Linked DNA regions of Homo sapiens: region 2 is linked to region 1. Evidence: promoter capture Hi-C in human tissues and cell types (Jung and others, 2019). All regions are on one chromosome and are shown on one strand. Each heading gives the region's core, a stretch centred on a gene start or on the middle of the fragment in contact. The rest is flanking DNA. Distances are from core to core; before and after follow the strand shown.

Evidence for each region. The method cuts DNA at HindIII sites, captures the fragments that hold promoters and counts their contacts. A contact is called where the count stands out against the background at its distance.
Region 2: a fragment that was not itself captured here is called in contact with the fragment with the promoter of CLIP2 in region 1 in 3 of the 25 tissues and cell types used here (dorsolateral prefrontal cortex, hippocampus and spleen).

The regions. Positions count from the first base shown.
Region 1 is chr7:74,287,963-74,290,977 of GRCh38, reverse strand. CLIP2 (CAP-Gly domain containing linker protein 2) reads right to left here and starts at 1,571. Exons shown (of 17, transcript NM_003388.5): 1 at 1,244-1,571. LOC107986742 (a long non-coding RNA gene) reads left to right here and starts at 1,671. Exons shown (of 2, transcript XR_001745024.2): 1 at 1,671-1,916. RefSeq lists enhancers at 1-572, 573-1,217 and silencers at 1,093-1,162, 1,183-1,652. The HindIII fragment of the contact is 6,317 bases long and covers 1-3,015 here.
Region 2 is chr7:74,420,148-74,423,269 of GRCh38, reverse strand. No RefSeq gene overlaps it. Among named protein-coding and RNA genes, the nearest start is that of GTF2IRD1, 32 kb to the left of the region's middle. The HindIII fragment of the contact is 8,329 bases long and covers 1-3,122 here.

The DNA of each region.
Region 1 (3,015 bases), core at 322-2,821:
GATGCTCTATGAAGCTTCCTGGTCTGCCCCATCCTCCAGGGGACCCCCTCTATGCCCCCAGCTTCCCCACTAATGCACTCATCAACCCCCGGGGCTGCACTTTTTGGGGACACCGAGGCTGCTGTCCTGTGGACCAGCCAGCCCCTAGAAGTGCCAGGCCAGGTAACAGCAGCTGAATGAAGGGCTTATTGTTTACATTTACAACCGAAAGGGAAGAGGCTTCTGAAGCACACACGTGGTGCTCCCCGCACCCTCCTCCTCCTCTGCCCACAGCCCTAGGCCACCCCACCCACCTCCCTCAGGCATCGCGCAAGAGTGACGGCAGACCCCCTCATCCCAGACCCCCACTTCTCACCCAGAAGTGAGAGGAGGGGTCTCAGACGTTGGGGGACACACTGCTGGGTGGGTGATTTCCCCCCAAGGTGCTCCCTCTGCCCGTCCTTCCCAGGGTGGGGCTGGGGCCTGCGTGGCAGTGCCCAGTGGGCACCCGCTCGGCCCAAGCTCTGCCTGAAAGGTCCAAACGGGCGGGCCCTGAAGGTTCAGCCAAGCATCCTCCGCGGCCGCCGCCCCTCCCCGGGAGGAGGGCAGAAAATCTGCTGCCTCACCAGCCACCAGCGCCAGCTTGGGGGGACACCCCCTGAGAGAAGCCGCCCGCCTCAATCTCCTCCTACCCCACCTCAGCCAAGCACTTCAACCAAGTTTTGCAAAGGCCATCGGCCAGGCGACCCCAGAGGGTGTAGCAGGGAGGAGAGGGGGGCAGTCCCTGTTCTCCCAGACCCCAGGTTTGGAGATGGGGGCTGCATGGCCGCGCCCACCAGGCTGTGCTCCCCAGGCTCTGTGAGCCCAGAGAGCCCTGCGGCGCGTCCAGCCGTCTTGCTCTGCCCTTGGAAGGGGGTACGGGCGACCCTCCAACAGAAGGGCCAAACCCCCGTCCGAGGGTAGGGACCCCGATGAGGCTGGTGATGCCTTCAACAGGGGGACCCGCAGCCCGGGAATAGCCCCCAACCCTGGCACCCCAAGCAGTGCCCCCTCCTCTCCTACAAGCAACGGGGAAGTTGGGGCACACCCCAGCCAGCTCCCGCCCACGCCCACCGGCCGGCCTCGAACCCTCCCGCCCCCGCCCACGCCCCGACAATGCCTCCGGGCCCGCAGCCCCGCTTTCGGCCAGGCCGCCGCCCCCCGCATCTCTCCGTCCTTTGTTGCCCGCGCGACCCCCTCCCTCGGCCCCTCCAGCAGCCCCTACCTTCGTCCTTCCAGCATCAGGCTAAGCGGCGGGAGGCCCGGAGAGCCCCGGCCTCCTCCTCTCGGGCCCGGGCGCGCTGGGGGGCGAGGATGCTGCGGCCCCTCCCTGCGCGGCGCTGCCCACCGGCTGCACCCCCTCCTGGCGCCGGGGATCCCCGCGATAGGTGCTCAGGGCCCGGGCCTCGCGCCACGTCTCTGGGAAGGCGGGAGGCGCGCACCGAGGCCGCCCAGCAGCCGCCTGCGCGCCCCGCGGCCGAGCCGAGCTGAGCGCCCGCGGAGCCAGCGGAGCCAGCGGAGCCAGCGGCCCGGCTCCGGGAGGGAACAAAAGGGGCCGGCGCAGGGGCGGGCGCGGGAGGGCGGGGCCTGGGGCGGGCGGGAGGGGGGGGCGGGTCAGGCGCGCGTGGGCGGCCTCGCGGTTTTCAGGCCTCAGTGCCTCGCGGAAAGCAGGCGGGCGGGCGGAAAACGCGGAGCAACCTCTTCCCCCTCTCCCCGCTCCATCTCCTTCCCTTCCCAGGCCGCAGCTGTCCTTTGTGGGGCGTCCAGGGTTCGCCCACATCCACCTCCGCGCTGGGCACCTGGTGGTGCTTACATCGCGTTTGGTGAAACGCATCCTCCAGCCATGCTATGCTTGCAAAGATGTCTCTGGTCATTGGGAAGGACGGCAGCTTGGGAAGGTGAGATGCTGTTGGCGCTGGACAGAAAGGATGAGGAGGGGGACAGTGCAGCTGGGGCGAAAACTTCAGGTCTGTGTTGGGGCCAGCGTGGGTGGGGAACTGTGGCACAGGGTCTCATGGTTATCAAGGATCTCATAGCCTGGGCAGTGTCTCACGCCTGTAATCCCAGCACTTCAGGAAGCCAAGGCGTGCAGATCGCCTGAGGCCAAGAGTCCGAGAACAACCTGGGCAACGTAACCTTCGTCTCTACAAAAAATACAAAAATTAGCTGGGCGCGCGCCTGCGGTCCCAGCTACTGGGGAGGCTGGGGTGGGAGGATCGCTGGAGCCCAGGAGGTCGAGGCTGCAGTGAGTCATGATCAAGCCACGGCCCTTCAGCCTGGGTGACAGAGCGAGACTCCGTCCCAAAAGAAAAAAAAAAAAGGATCTCATGGTGATCAGCTTCCAAGATACAAATGAACCCTCCCCAGGACAGGATGCATGTACTGCTATTTCAGAGGAGTTGAGGCAGCTGCCAGGTCCCCTCCTGCGTGGAGAGGCAGATGCCAAGTGACAGCTCAGGAACTAAACAGTGACCAAGCCCCAGCCCCTGTCCATGCCCAGGCTGCGGTTGGCTTCTGTGGCTTGGTTTCCCTCTGTCCCCCCTTGATAAGCTCGCCTGGATGCCTTTGACCTAGCTGGCCGTTCTACCAGTCCTGCCCTGCCCCCTTTCTCTGTTTGACAAATCATATTCCCCCTTCAAAGCACAGCTTAAATGTCCCTGCTTTTCCCTTGAGTGCAGGAATGTGGGTGTTGGGGGAGGTTGTGGTCTGTATGGTGAGACCACTGTTCTGCGGGAGAGAAGTGCCACATACGATCTTGTTCCTATCCCCTAAGGGACCCAGTGCAATGCTTGGCAGAGGGTAGACATCCAGTAATATTTGTTGAATGAATGAATGAACTTACTAAGTTAACATTACCACCCCTCAACTGTCTTGGTATCCATAATCTTTGAGAAGTGAGTGAACCTTTTTTTAGAGAAGGGGTCTCACTCTGTCACCCAGGCTGGAGTGCAGTGGTGTGATTACAGCTCACTGCAGCCTCAAACTCCCAGGCTCAAA
Region 2 (3,122 bases), core at 438-2,937, 130 kb before region 1:
TTTGGGGAATCCAAACCAAGATGGCAGAATTTCCTATTTCTCTGAGAACAGCAAACTTGAACGGGGTTTTGGAGAGGTGGATTCGTCACAGTTTGCCACGGAATGTCACACTTCTCCTTGAATAGGGAGCCGAGTGGCTGCTCTGAGCCACTCAACACACTGCCCAGTCCTTCTCTCCCTTTACCTCTGCCCTTTCTTCTCCAAAGCCCTCCCTCAGCCAGCTGCAGTGGCTCATGCCTCTAATCCCAGCTACTCGGGAGGCTGAGGTGGGAAGATTGCCTGGGGCCAGGCATTTGAGACCAGCCTGGACAACAGAACAAGACCCCATATCTACAGGAAGTTAAAAAATTATAAGGCCGGGCGTGGTGGCTCACACCTGTAATGCCAGCACTTTGGGAGGCTGAGGTGGGTGGATCACGAGGTCAAGAGATCAAGACCGTCCTAGCCAACATGGTGAAACCCTGTCTCTACTAAAAATGTGAAAATTAGATGGGCGTGGTGGCGTGCACCTGTAGTCCCAGCTACTCGGGAGGCTGAGGCAGAAGAGTCGCTTGAACCTGAGAGTCGGAGGTCGCAGTGAGCCAAGACTGCGCCACTGCACTCCAGCCTGACAACAGAGCCCACCTTGGCCTGTTATACATATAACTTTTTTTTTCATAGAGACCAGGGTCTTGCTATGTCTCCCAGGCTGGCTTTGAACTCCTGGGCTCAAACAATCCTCCCACCTCAGCCTCCCAAAACACTGGGATTACAGGCATGAGCCACAGCACCTGGCCAAAAAATTTAAAAATTAGCTGTGTGTGGTGGTGTGTGCTTGTAGTCCCAGCTACTCAAGAGGCTGAGGCAGGAGGATCGCTTAAGCCCGGGAGGTCGAGGCTGCAGAGTGATGATTACACCACAGTACTCAAGCCTGGCGACAGAGTGAGAGCCTGTCTCTAAAAAAAAACAAAAACAACAACAACAACACACAAACAGGGGTGGCCACATAGAGTTTTGTGAGGATTGAATGAATGCCTGGAAGATTAAAAAGTAATCACTGAGAAAAAAAAGGACTTTCAGGCTCAGGATATGAAAGAGCCAGGCCAAGCATGGTGGCTCACGGCTGTAATCCCAGCACTTTGGGAGGCCAAGGAGGGCGGATCACTTGAGGTCAGGAGTTGGAGCCCAGCCTGGCCAACATGGTGAAACCCCACCTCTACTAACAATACAAAAATCAGCTGGGCGTGGTGGCGCATGCCTGTATTCTCAGCTATGTGGGAGGCTGAGGCAGGAGAATTGCTTGAACCCAGGAGGCAGAGGTTGCAGTGAGCCAAGATCACTCCACTGCACTCCAGCATGGGCGATGGAGTGAGACTGTGTCTCAAAAAAAAAAAAAAAAAAAAAGCCAGCAAAGATTTAAAATCAAGAGTTTTCTTTATAATCATGAAAAATAGTTCAGATAAAAGAAATTAAAAGACTAGCAGCACCAATAAGATGAATACCTTATAAATGAGAGGGCTAATGTGTATTACAAAGTTAAAATCAGCAAATACAAAATTAAAATGAAAAGCTATGAAGTTGGTCTTAAAAGTTACTCTCCACAAGAGATAAAAGTTAAGAGGTTTAAAATAATGATAAAGTGACAAAATAAATGTGATTTAAGAAGATAGATGATCAATGCCTCAGGTCTGGGATTAAAAGATTAAAAATACAAACATTAAAGACGTAAGTCTGAGAAGATGGAGATGACCACCCAGGAGACAGAGAGACGGTGCAGAGAAGGGGACCGCAGATGAAGAACTGGCATTAGGGAGAAAGAATATCTTGTTTCTTTTCTTTTCTTCTTTTTTCTTTAAGAAGATACTGGGGGTCAGGCAGGGCGTGATGGCTCGTGCCTGTAATCCCAGCACTTTGGGAGGCCGAGACAGGGGGATCACGAGGTCAAGGGATTGAGACCATCTTGGCCAACATGGTGAAACCCTGTCTCTACTAAAAATACAAAAAAATTAGCTGGGTGTGGTGGCGCACACCTGTAGTCCCAGCTACTCAGGAGGCTGAGGCAGGAGAATCAGTTGATCTCAGGAGGCAGAGGTTGCAGTGAGCCGAGGGCCAAGGTCACGCCACTGCACTCCAGCCTGGCGACAGAGCAAGACTCTGTCCAAAAAATCCCCAAAAAGATACAGTGTCTCACTATGTTGCCCAGACTGATCTCCAGCTCCTGGGCTCAAGTGAGCCTCCTGCTTCAGCCTCCCAGAGTGCTAGGATTACAGGCATGAGCCACCGCACCTGGCCCATATTTATTTTCTGAACAAGAGATAAACTTTCAAGTAAAGAGGACTGAAATAAAAGAAAGAAAGAAGGAAGGAAAGAAAGAACAAACGAAAGAAAGAAAGAAAGAAAGAAAGAAAGAAAGAAAGAAAGAAAGAAAGAAAGAAAAACAGCTTTATTTATTTATTTATTATTTATTTATTTGAGACAGGGTCTCGCTCTGTCATCCAGGCTGGAGGGCAGTGGCATGATCATGGCTCACTGCAGCCTCGGCCTCCTGGACTCAGGTGATCCTCCCACGTCAGCCTCCCCAGTAGCTGGGATTACAGACATGTGCCGCCATGCCTGGGGTTTCACCATGTTGCCCAGGCTGGTCTCGAACTCCTAAGCTCAAGCAATCCTCCCGCCTCGACCTCCCAAAGTGCCAGATTACAGGTGTGAGCCACCATGTCCAGTACAGAAAAGTTGTTTTAAAGAAAACAATTCTGGGTGGATCACCTGAGGTTAGGAGTTGAGACCAGCCTAACCAACATGGTGAAACCCTGACTCTACTAAAAATACAAAATTAGCTGGGCGTGGTGGCGCATGCCTGTAATCCCAGCTACTTGGGAGGCTGAGGCAGGAGAATCGCTTGAACACGGGAAGCAGAGGTTGCAGTGAACAGAGATTGCGCCACTGCACTCCAGCTTGGGTGACAGAGCGGGACTCCACTTCAAAATAAAGAAGGAAAAAGAAAGAAAGAAAAAGAGATAAAGGAAGGGAGGAAAGAGAAAGAAAGAAAGAGAGAGAAAGAGAGAAAGAAAGAGAAAGAAGAAAGAGAAAGAAAGAAGGAAGGAAAGAAAAAGAAAGAAAAAAGAAAGAAAGAAAGGAAAGAA